3 separate regions of the Homo sapiens genome follow, and regions 2 and 3 are each linked to region 1. The links are contacts of gene promoters, found by promoter capture Hi-C in blood cells and fetal thymus (Javierre and others, 2016). All regions are on one chromosome and are shown on one strand. The core of a region is centred on a gene start or on the middle of the fragment in contact, and the rest is flanking DNA. Distances in the headings are between cores, read along the strand shown. Region 1 holds the start of LNCRNA-IUR (lncRNA imatinib upregulated). Region 2 has its middle 110 kb from the start of FAM76B. Region 3 overlaps PIWIL4 (piwi like RNA-mediated gene silencing 4).

Region 1 (2,863 bases), core at 287-2,786:
TAAAGCCAAAGTCTAAAACATTTACAAAGCGTTATATGATCAGTTCCTACCTGCTTTCCTTATGTTGGAGGCTGTGAAGCTCCTTAATATATAAACAGTTCTCAGGAGAAGGAATAAAAGCACAGCCACCTCCTCAGCAGAGCCAGTTTACACTCTGCTAGAGACAAGAGGAGCTGGGACCTTCTCCCCTAACCCTTACTGCATATGTGAGAGAAGCCAGACCTGCTGGATCGACTGGAAATGCCCAGTGCCTGAGACGGGGAGGAAAGAGAAGCCGTGGGGAGGAAAAGACTGTAAACCTAAAAGGCATTGAAGTCCCACCTCACCAGTTAGGCAGGGAGGAGAAAGAGGCCTAGGGCGCTCGGGAACTTGGAATAAGGTTGCCCTCTGCGGGTGAAACTGTGAAATATCTCACAGTGGAGGAGGGCGGAGACTGTTCGCAGAGGGGCCCGGCGAAAACGTCACCCTACTGGAGGTACGAACGCATCGCAGACTGGGGGCGCCCGAGCGCATCCCAGACGCGAGGGCAAAGGCCCAGGAGGACTGTGGGGCTCTCGGAAGTATCCGATCACCTTGCGAGGAGTCCGCCGGCTGTCCGAGCCTGATGTCACTGCAACTTCGATTCCTCCGACGCCCCTACTCTTACTTCCCAGTCTTCAGGCAACTTCTCCGCTTCGGCCTCCCCTAGGCCTTGGCCCCAGAGAGGGGACGCACTCCACAGGTGGATTCGCACGTGTGGGCCCTCGGCAGCACTTTCTCGTGCAAATTAACAGGTGGCCCTCATTGTGGAAGCACCGCCCAGCCTTTCCCGGGGAGGTCACCAGGGCGAGGCCGCTCAAGGTCTGCAGGCGCCCGGCGTTAGCGGGATCCTCCCCGCGCACTGGTCCGAGGAGGCCAGGAGAGGGCGAACCAGTCCCCGACCAGCGGCCCTTCCGGGGGTGGGCTCTGACCCCACCGAGCGGTTAGAGGGTCCAGGAGCTCCAAAGGGTAGGGCAGAATTGGGTAGATGAGGGTGCATTTTTCTGGGAGGAGTCTAAGGCGTCGCTGACTCTCAAAGGCCCGCATCCGGAGAAAGGGAAAGAGCCCCGTCCCGGGAGGAAGGACGAGAGGCTGGCCCGCGGGAAGGAGCCCTGGCAGTCCCTCCTGGCCTAGGTCTACCTCTTTGATCTCACCGTCCCCGTGGCGGCGAGTGCCACCAAAGATGAGAGAGGCCAGCAGGTATCGGGAGAGAGCTGAGGGGTCGGCGCCGGCGGGACCCCAGATTGGAGCCGCCGTCGTCGGACGGGCAGACCCTGCTGTAATAGCTCCCGGCCGGCCACGGTAGGCAGGTGGGGCCCACCGCGAGTCCTAGTGAAAAACACCTTCCTCTTGATTCTCTCAAAGGAACCCGAGCCCTGGGAAGGGACATCAAGGCGCTCCCGAGACTCCGGAGACGGCCAACAGCCCCAAAAGAGAGTACTCGGCTATCCAGCCGCCCTTATCCAAGCGGAGAATCTCTCTCCACCTCCGCCCTCCCGGGACTCAAAGTTGTTTGTGGAGCCTCCAGGTTTCCTTGTAGATGGGCACGATATGCACTGTGTGCGCGCGCGCGCACACACACACACACACACACACACACACACACACACACGTATATGTATTTTTCCAGTGGCCACTGCAGGATTGCCAGCTTTCGGAAATGAGCATCCGCTCTCTCTCTCGGGACTGGGCGTGGGGTTCACCGAAAGGAGAGGAAGAGACCTTGCGTTTGCGCTGGGCCTGCTCGATGCCAGGCCATTCTAGGCTTCTGTCTATCCTGGTTTCTGGTCTGTGCGTTGTGGGTAGCAGCATTGGCGTATTACGCCGGAGGGAGCAGGCTGAGCGAGGCTCCAGAAGGTGCGCAATAGCCGGAGAGGAAAGGGCGATGCTGTCACCTAGCCCCCTCCCTGAGACTCCATTCAGCCCAGAAAAAGGAGCTGCTTTCTCCCCCATCTACCCTAGGAGAAAATAAACGGTCGCTGGCATTTTCCTGCGTCTTTTAATTTTGCCAGAACTGTTTTGGGTTGGCTATTGTGGGCCAGGATGGAGGCCTTCTCCTCCCGGGAGCAAACCTGCCCACGCCCAGGCCGGCAGTGGAGTCAGCCTTGCCCCAGCCTGCCCTCCAGGGAAACAATGCCCCTTTGTCCCTCGCCCTCCCGGGGCTGATACAGCCCCTCCCCTTAGCTTAGGGCTCCCTCCCGTTAGAGCATTCCAATGATTGCCACAAGTCACACTTTTCTTTGAGGTCTCTGCCTGGGAAGAAAACAAAGCAGCCCTCCTAATCACACGGAGGGAGTGGAACTTTTCCTGCCCTCTGACTATGTGCCAGCCTTGGCTCCTCCCTGAAGCCCTGTCTAGAGGGCTTATTAGGTCACTTATGTTTTGTACCTCGTGTGAAGTCCCACAATCAGTAGATTATAGAGGGGAGCACAAACCCAGCAGTGTCTGACATAGAGAAATTACACATACATACATACACACATACATACATACATACACACACACACATACACACATACATATACATACATACATACATACATACACACACATACATACACACATACATACACACATACACATACATACATACATACATATATACATACATATATATAGTCTTTCCACCACCCAGGATTGAAAATTAATGCTGTTTTTGACATTGTCCGTTATCCACCCAAACCCTCCAAAAAGGCTGGCTGGCATTTGCTTGGCTCTAGTTCTACCTGCCCACCTTCTCCTTTGCCTAATCCTGAGTTTTCCCCTTCCCCACGTGTGTTCCCCTTGAGCACTTTTTTGCTAACTTCCTGCATGCTACTGTCATCTCAGAGACTGATTCCTGGGG
Region 2 (2,700 bases), core at 146-2,645, 530 kb before region 1:
CAGCTCAAGTCCGAGGGTGGTTGGGGCAGAATTCCCTCTTCCTTTGGGATCTCTGTCTGTTTATTCTTAAGGCCATCAACTGATCAGATGAGGCCCATTCATGTTATAGAAGGTAATCGGCCTTACTCAAAGTTTACTGATTTAAATGTGTAATTGACTTAAATCTCATCTAAAAGTAGCTTAACGAAAAGCATTTAGACTTGTGTTTGACCAAATGTCTGAGTACAATGGCCTAGGCAAGTTGACACGTAAAATTAACCATCACGTCAAGTAACTGATGTTCATGAGTGACACACTCCCTCAAACTAGACCGAGTGAGTGTTGTGTCTCCTGAGGGCCAAAGTCCTCTTTGCTGTTTCCCAGTAAAGAACCAAGAATGGTGAGGAAATAATGCCAACAGTGAACAGGATAGAGAGAGGCTTATTCTAAAAGCTTGAGTCAGAGTGGTCTAGAATGAGATATTTTATTTTAAGGAGACCAGATATTGTCTAGTAAGGTTGATGGTTACCACCCAGCTTCAAAAACTATCAGAGCTGGGGTGGACCCTATAGTTTTCTAGCTCTGCCCCTTCTACAGAAAGATGAAGTGAAGGGACTGAGGCCCAAGCCAAAGGCCTTCTTTAAAGAAAGACTGAGGGAAGTCAAGTCCTCTGAGTCCTTGTCCAATGCCACTGATTTTAAAATACTGAATTCCATGGGACTCTTCAGTGACATTCTGGGGCTGGCCATTCACTGGTGATATAACGCAGTCAGGCAGATCTTAATGGAAGGGGAGTCATTAGAGGATCTGGCTAATTGACTATTTGAATTAACAATGTCTTCAGTTGGAAAACTAATGAGAAACAAGGGGTGTTGGAAAAGGGTCTGGCTGAGCTTTATTTTGTGTACAGACTAAAATGAGGTTTTCCCTAAATGACTATTTTCTTTACCAGAATCACTGTTCACATGGCAATCTAAAAATTTCTAAATATTAGCTAAACTAAGATGTTAATAGTTGAGAAATTAGGAAAAGTGTGATAAAAGCCTATATATAATTTTTAGGGCTGAGAAAATTATTTAGAAACCACTGTAAACAAGTGTTTTTGAGTCTGTATATAAGATTACTGAGTTATTCAACTCTATTTCATGCCACATAGCAACACTGGTCTTTTTTTCCCTATATATTTATTGATCATTTATGTTTCTTTCATGTGACTTTCTTACTTATGGCTTTTCTTAAAAAAAACTAAGAAGTAAAAATTGTACATTTTTATGGCATACAATGTGATATGTGTGTGTGGGTGTATATGTATATTTATATGTATGTATATACACACCCATGCACACATTGTGGAAAGATTAAATCAGCCATTTATCATACGCATGATACCTCACATACTTATCTTTTTTGTTTGGTGAGAGCACTTAAACTCTACTGTACTAGCAATTTTCAAGTACACTGCATATTGCTGTTAACTACAGTCATCATGATGTACAATATATCTCTTGAACTTATTCCCCCTAACTGAAATTTTGTGTTCTTTGACCAGCATCTCCCCAGTCCCCCACCTTATGGCCTCTGATAACCACAATTTTCTCTCTGTTTCCATGAGAGTGACTTTTTAAGATTCCACATATAAGTAAGATCATGCAGTATTTTTGTCTTTTTATGCCTGGTTTATTTCACTTTTTAATGTCCACCAGATTCATCCATGTTGTCACAAATGACAGAATTTCTTTGTTTTTTAAGGCTATTATTCCACTGTGTACATATACCACATTTTCTTTATCCGTTCATCTGTTGATGGACACTTAGGTTGATTCCATATCTTGGCTATTGTGAATAGTGCTGTGATAAACACGGGAGTGCTGATAGTACTTCAAGACATTGATTTAATATCCTTTGAATATATACCCAGAAGTGAGATTGCTGGATCATATGGTAGTTCTATTCTTAATTTTTTGGGGAATCTCCATATCATTTTCCATAATAGTTGTACTAATTTACATTCTCACCAACAGTGTACAAGAGGTTCCTTTTCTCTACATCATCACCAACACTTGTTATCTTTTGTCTTTTTGACAGCAGCCATTATAACAGGTGTGAAATAACATACCTTTGTGGTTTTAATTTGCATTTCCCTGATGATTAGTGATGTTGAACATATTTTCACATACTTGTTGGCCCTTTGCATGTCTTCTTTTGAGAAATGTCTATTCAGGTCCTTTGCCCATTTTTAATTGGGTTTTTTTTTACTATTGAGTTGTAAGATATATTTCTTATATATTGTGAATATTAACCCCTTATCAGATGTATGATTTGCAAATATACTTTTGTATTTTGTTGGTTGTATCTTCACTGTGTTGAGCAGAAGCTTTTTAGTTTGATGCAATCCCCTTTGTCTAATTTTGCTTTTATTGCCTGGGCTTTTGGGGTGAAATCCAAAAAAATCATCCCCCAGACCAAGATCATGGAGCTTTTTCTCTGTTGCCTTCTAGCAGTTTACACCTTCAGGTCTTACATTTAAGTCTTTCATTCATTTTCAGTTGATTTTTGTAGATAGTGTGAGTTAAGAGTCTAATTTTATTCTTCTGCACGTGGATATCCACGTTTCTCTGCACCATTTATTGAAGAGACTGTCCTTTCCTTATGGTGTGTTTTCGGCATCTTTGTTGAAAATATTCAATTTCTTGAGCATTAAACTCTCTCCTATCTCAAGGC
Region 3 (2,700 bases), core at 199-2,698, 530 kb after region 1:
AATAACTGCTAAAAAAAAAATTACCTGCTAAAAAAATTTACCAGGTTTCGATGTGAGGGGAATATAATAGAATGCAATAATTATTTTCATGTATATATTGCATAGTTATTTTAAGAGTTTATTGTTTAGGAAATTCATTTTAGTTTGATAGAAGGTAATCATATATATAAGTCCATTACCAACATGTATAAGCAAATTCATTTTTTAAGAAAAAATATTTACAATACTCCCAAATTTACAGATGGGAAAATGCAGATCAGGAGAGGGAAGGGTTTGTACAAGTCACACTGCTAGGAAATAGCAAAGCCAGACCTAGGCCAGGAGTGGTGAAGAAACAGAAACCTTAGATTTGTCTTTGCATTGCATCCTGCTATGGATAGGGCACCTTTCCTCATCTGCTGTCTTTCCCTTCTTCTCTTGCTTTGCCACTTTATCTGTTAGCACCCCTATCCTAGCCCTATAGGCTTCCCTCCTAGGTCTACACTTAACATTGCTCTGTCATAACTCGAGTTCCTCCAGGGTTGGTTTCTTTTGACCTTCAAACTGCTTGTCAGGGAAACCAGCAGCCACAAATTTTCCTTCCTTCTGGCTTCATGTTATCACACACAGACAAATGTAAATGTAAATGCTACATAGTCTGATTGTTGGCCTAAATCGGCATGCAGCTTCAGAGATCTTCAACTGGGTGACAGTTGACAAAGACAGGTGTAGAGAGTTTGCTCTGACCTATGTGGTCTTCTATAAGCATGTGGATTTGAGGTCTGAAGGAACAGTCCTTGGAGCCCACCCACATTGCTATATTTTTAGTACCAGTCATGAAAACTTTCAAGCAATCTGCAACATCAGTCATTGTTCTCTGAAGGATACAGCGGGAAAACCACCTAAAGTTAAAAAAAAAAATAAAAGTAAAATTCAACTTCAATTTTTCTACCATAAATATTCATTAATATTAAATTAAGAAACAGAGATTATGAGTAAAAATCAATGTTCGCAATTTTGTATGTGTTATGTGTTCACAATTATATCAAAGAGACCCTTTACCCAAAAAGAATTTATTGAGAACAGAAGCTAAACATAGTGTTGGCATCAGCCATATCGAGCTTCAAATCCTAGTCAATATACTCACCAGCTGTGTAACTTTGCTATGTGAACCTAAGTCTCAGTTTCCTCATCTGTACCAAGGAGATTTACAAGGTAAGTAGATTAGTTACTACCTCATAGGGTTGTGGTAAAAATTAAATCACATGATATTTGTAAAATATTTAGCATAGTACTTTGCATATAGTAAAGAGTAATAGAGGCCACTATTATTGTTATAAATTAATGTACTAATTTAGCAATAGAGCTTCTACTGTCAAAATATTCAAAGATTTCTGAAGCATAAACTTTCATTTCTATAGGTGATCCTTTTGGATTAGAAATCTTAACATTATTGTGTAGATTTCAGAAACAAGTTCTCTTACTACCACCATTAATTAACTTAAAGCACTTGGAAATGAAGATCATGACTTTGTGTTAGGTATGTTCCAGCATTATTATACCTCTCTAAATATATGCAACAACAGTAATACAGCTACATGTGGTGGCGCGTGCCTATAGTCACAGCTACTTGGGAGGCTGAGGTAGGAGGACTGCTTGAGCCCATGAGTTCAAGGCTGTATTGTGCTATCACTGTGCCTGTGAATAGCCACTGCACTCCAGCCTGGGCAACAAAGCAAGACCCCATCTCTAAACATTTTGTTTTTTTGTAAAAAACAACAACAAAACAAAAAAAACAGAACACAATTAGGAATGCTGCCAACAAACTAGAAGTCCTGAGTGATATTAGCAAGGTGGAAGAATAGGAGCTTTCTACCATCATTTCCCTTCCAGAAGCATCAATTTTGACAATTACCCATGGATGAGACTAACTCCAATGGTGACGTTCCAGCACATCACTGGAGTAAAACATCAGAGAATGGATGCATTAAAGAGGGTAACACAAAGAGATTCACTTTACCTGCATTGCTCCTCCCCTACGGAGGGCACAGCTCAGTGCCATGACAGATCACATCAGCCCATGATTTCTCTTACAGGGTGAAAATTAGAGTGTAGTGAGTGAGTACCCAGCTCCCTCACCCATTCAGGATACTGCCTAGGATGCCCACTTTTTTCTTGCCTCAACCAGAACAACAAGATTATCAGCACAGCTGGGAGGTTAGGAGAGTCTGGGGGCAGGAAAGAGTGGCTGCAAACCCTACTGACTGCTCTATGAGCTTCATCAAGAGGCCCTCCTGTGGGTTTCTTAGGATACCTTGCCTATGGAGCACCTCAACTGACTCACAGGCACCCCAAATGCTACATGTATCTCACCACCACCCCTGACCAGGCTGGCTCCCCAACCACATTTGTTCAGATGTTGAGTGCAAGCATTTCACACAAACAGATAGCTTGACTCTTCAGGATTTGGAGAAGGTACACAAAATGAGCATTTCAGGGCACCACCCTAGGGAAAACAGATGAGAGCCTCTTGACAGCTGGCCTGGCTTTGTGGGATTGAGAAAGTGCATGCAATTTTAAGGATCCCCCCACCAAGTGAGAACCAGAAGTGTGGAGTGGGCACATGAATAGAAAACGTGTAAGAGAGCCTCAGAATCCCTAGCTGGGCTGACTGTTAAAGGTTTTTCTCTCCCAAAGATAGCCAATAAAGACTGGAAGAAA

The links. The method cuts DNA at HindIII sites, captures the fragments that hold promoters and counts their contacts. A CHiCAGO score of 5 or more calls a contact.
Region 2: a fragment that was not itself captured here is called in contact with the fragment with the promoter of LNCRNA-IUR in region 1 in 17 of 17 cell types (neutrophils, monocytes, naive CD4 T cells and 14 more); the score reaches 12.6 in neutrophils.
Region 3: a contact is called between a fragment that was not itself captured here and the fragment with the promoter of LNCRNA-IUR in region 1, in 1 of 17 cell types (fetal thymus). The highest score is 7.0, in fetal thymus.

The regions. Positions count from the first base shown.
Region 1 is chr11:95,149,212-95,152,074 of GRCh38, reverse strand. It overlaps LNCRNA-IUR (lncRNA imatinib upregulated), which reads right to left and starts at 1,536. Exons shown (of 3, transcript NR_110303.1): 1 at 327-1,536. RefSeq lists a silencer at 307-416 and enhancers at 937-1,066, 667-1,208, 1,209-1,750. The HindIII fragment of the contact is 7,632 bases long and covers 1-2,863 here.
Region 2 is chr11:95,676,836-95,679,535 of GRCh38, reverse strand. No RefSeq gene overlaps it. Among named protein-coding and RNA genes, the nearest start is that of FAM76B, 110 kb to the left of the region's middle. The HindIII fragment of the contact is 1,921 bases long and covers 435-2,355 here.
Region 3 is chr11:94,614,674-94,617,373 of GRCh38, reverse strand. PIWIL4 (piwi like RNA-mediated gene silencing 4) reads right to left here. Exons shown (of 20, transcript NM_152431.3): 16 at 811-881. The region is part of intron 4 of PIWIL4-AS1 (PIWIL4 antisense RNA 1); the gene reads left to right. Among named protein-coding and RNA genes, the nearest start is that of LINC02700, 22 kb to the left of the region's middle. The HindIII fragment of the contact is 4,774 bases long and covers 1-2,700 here.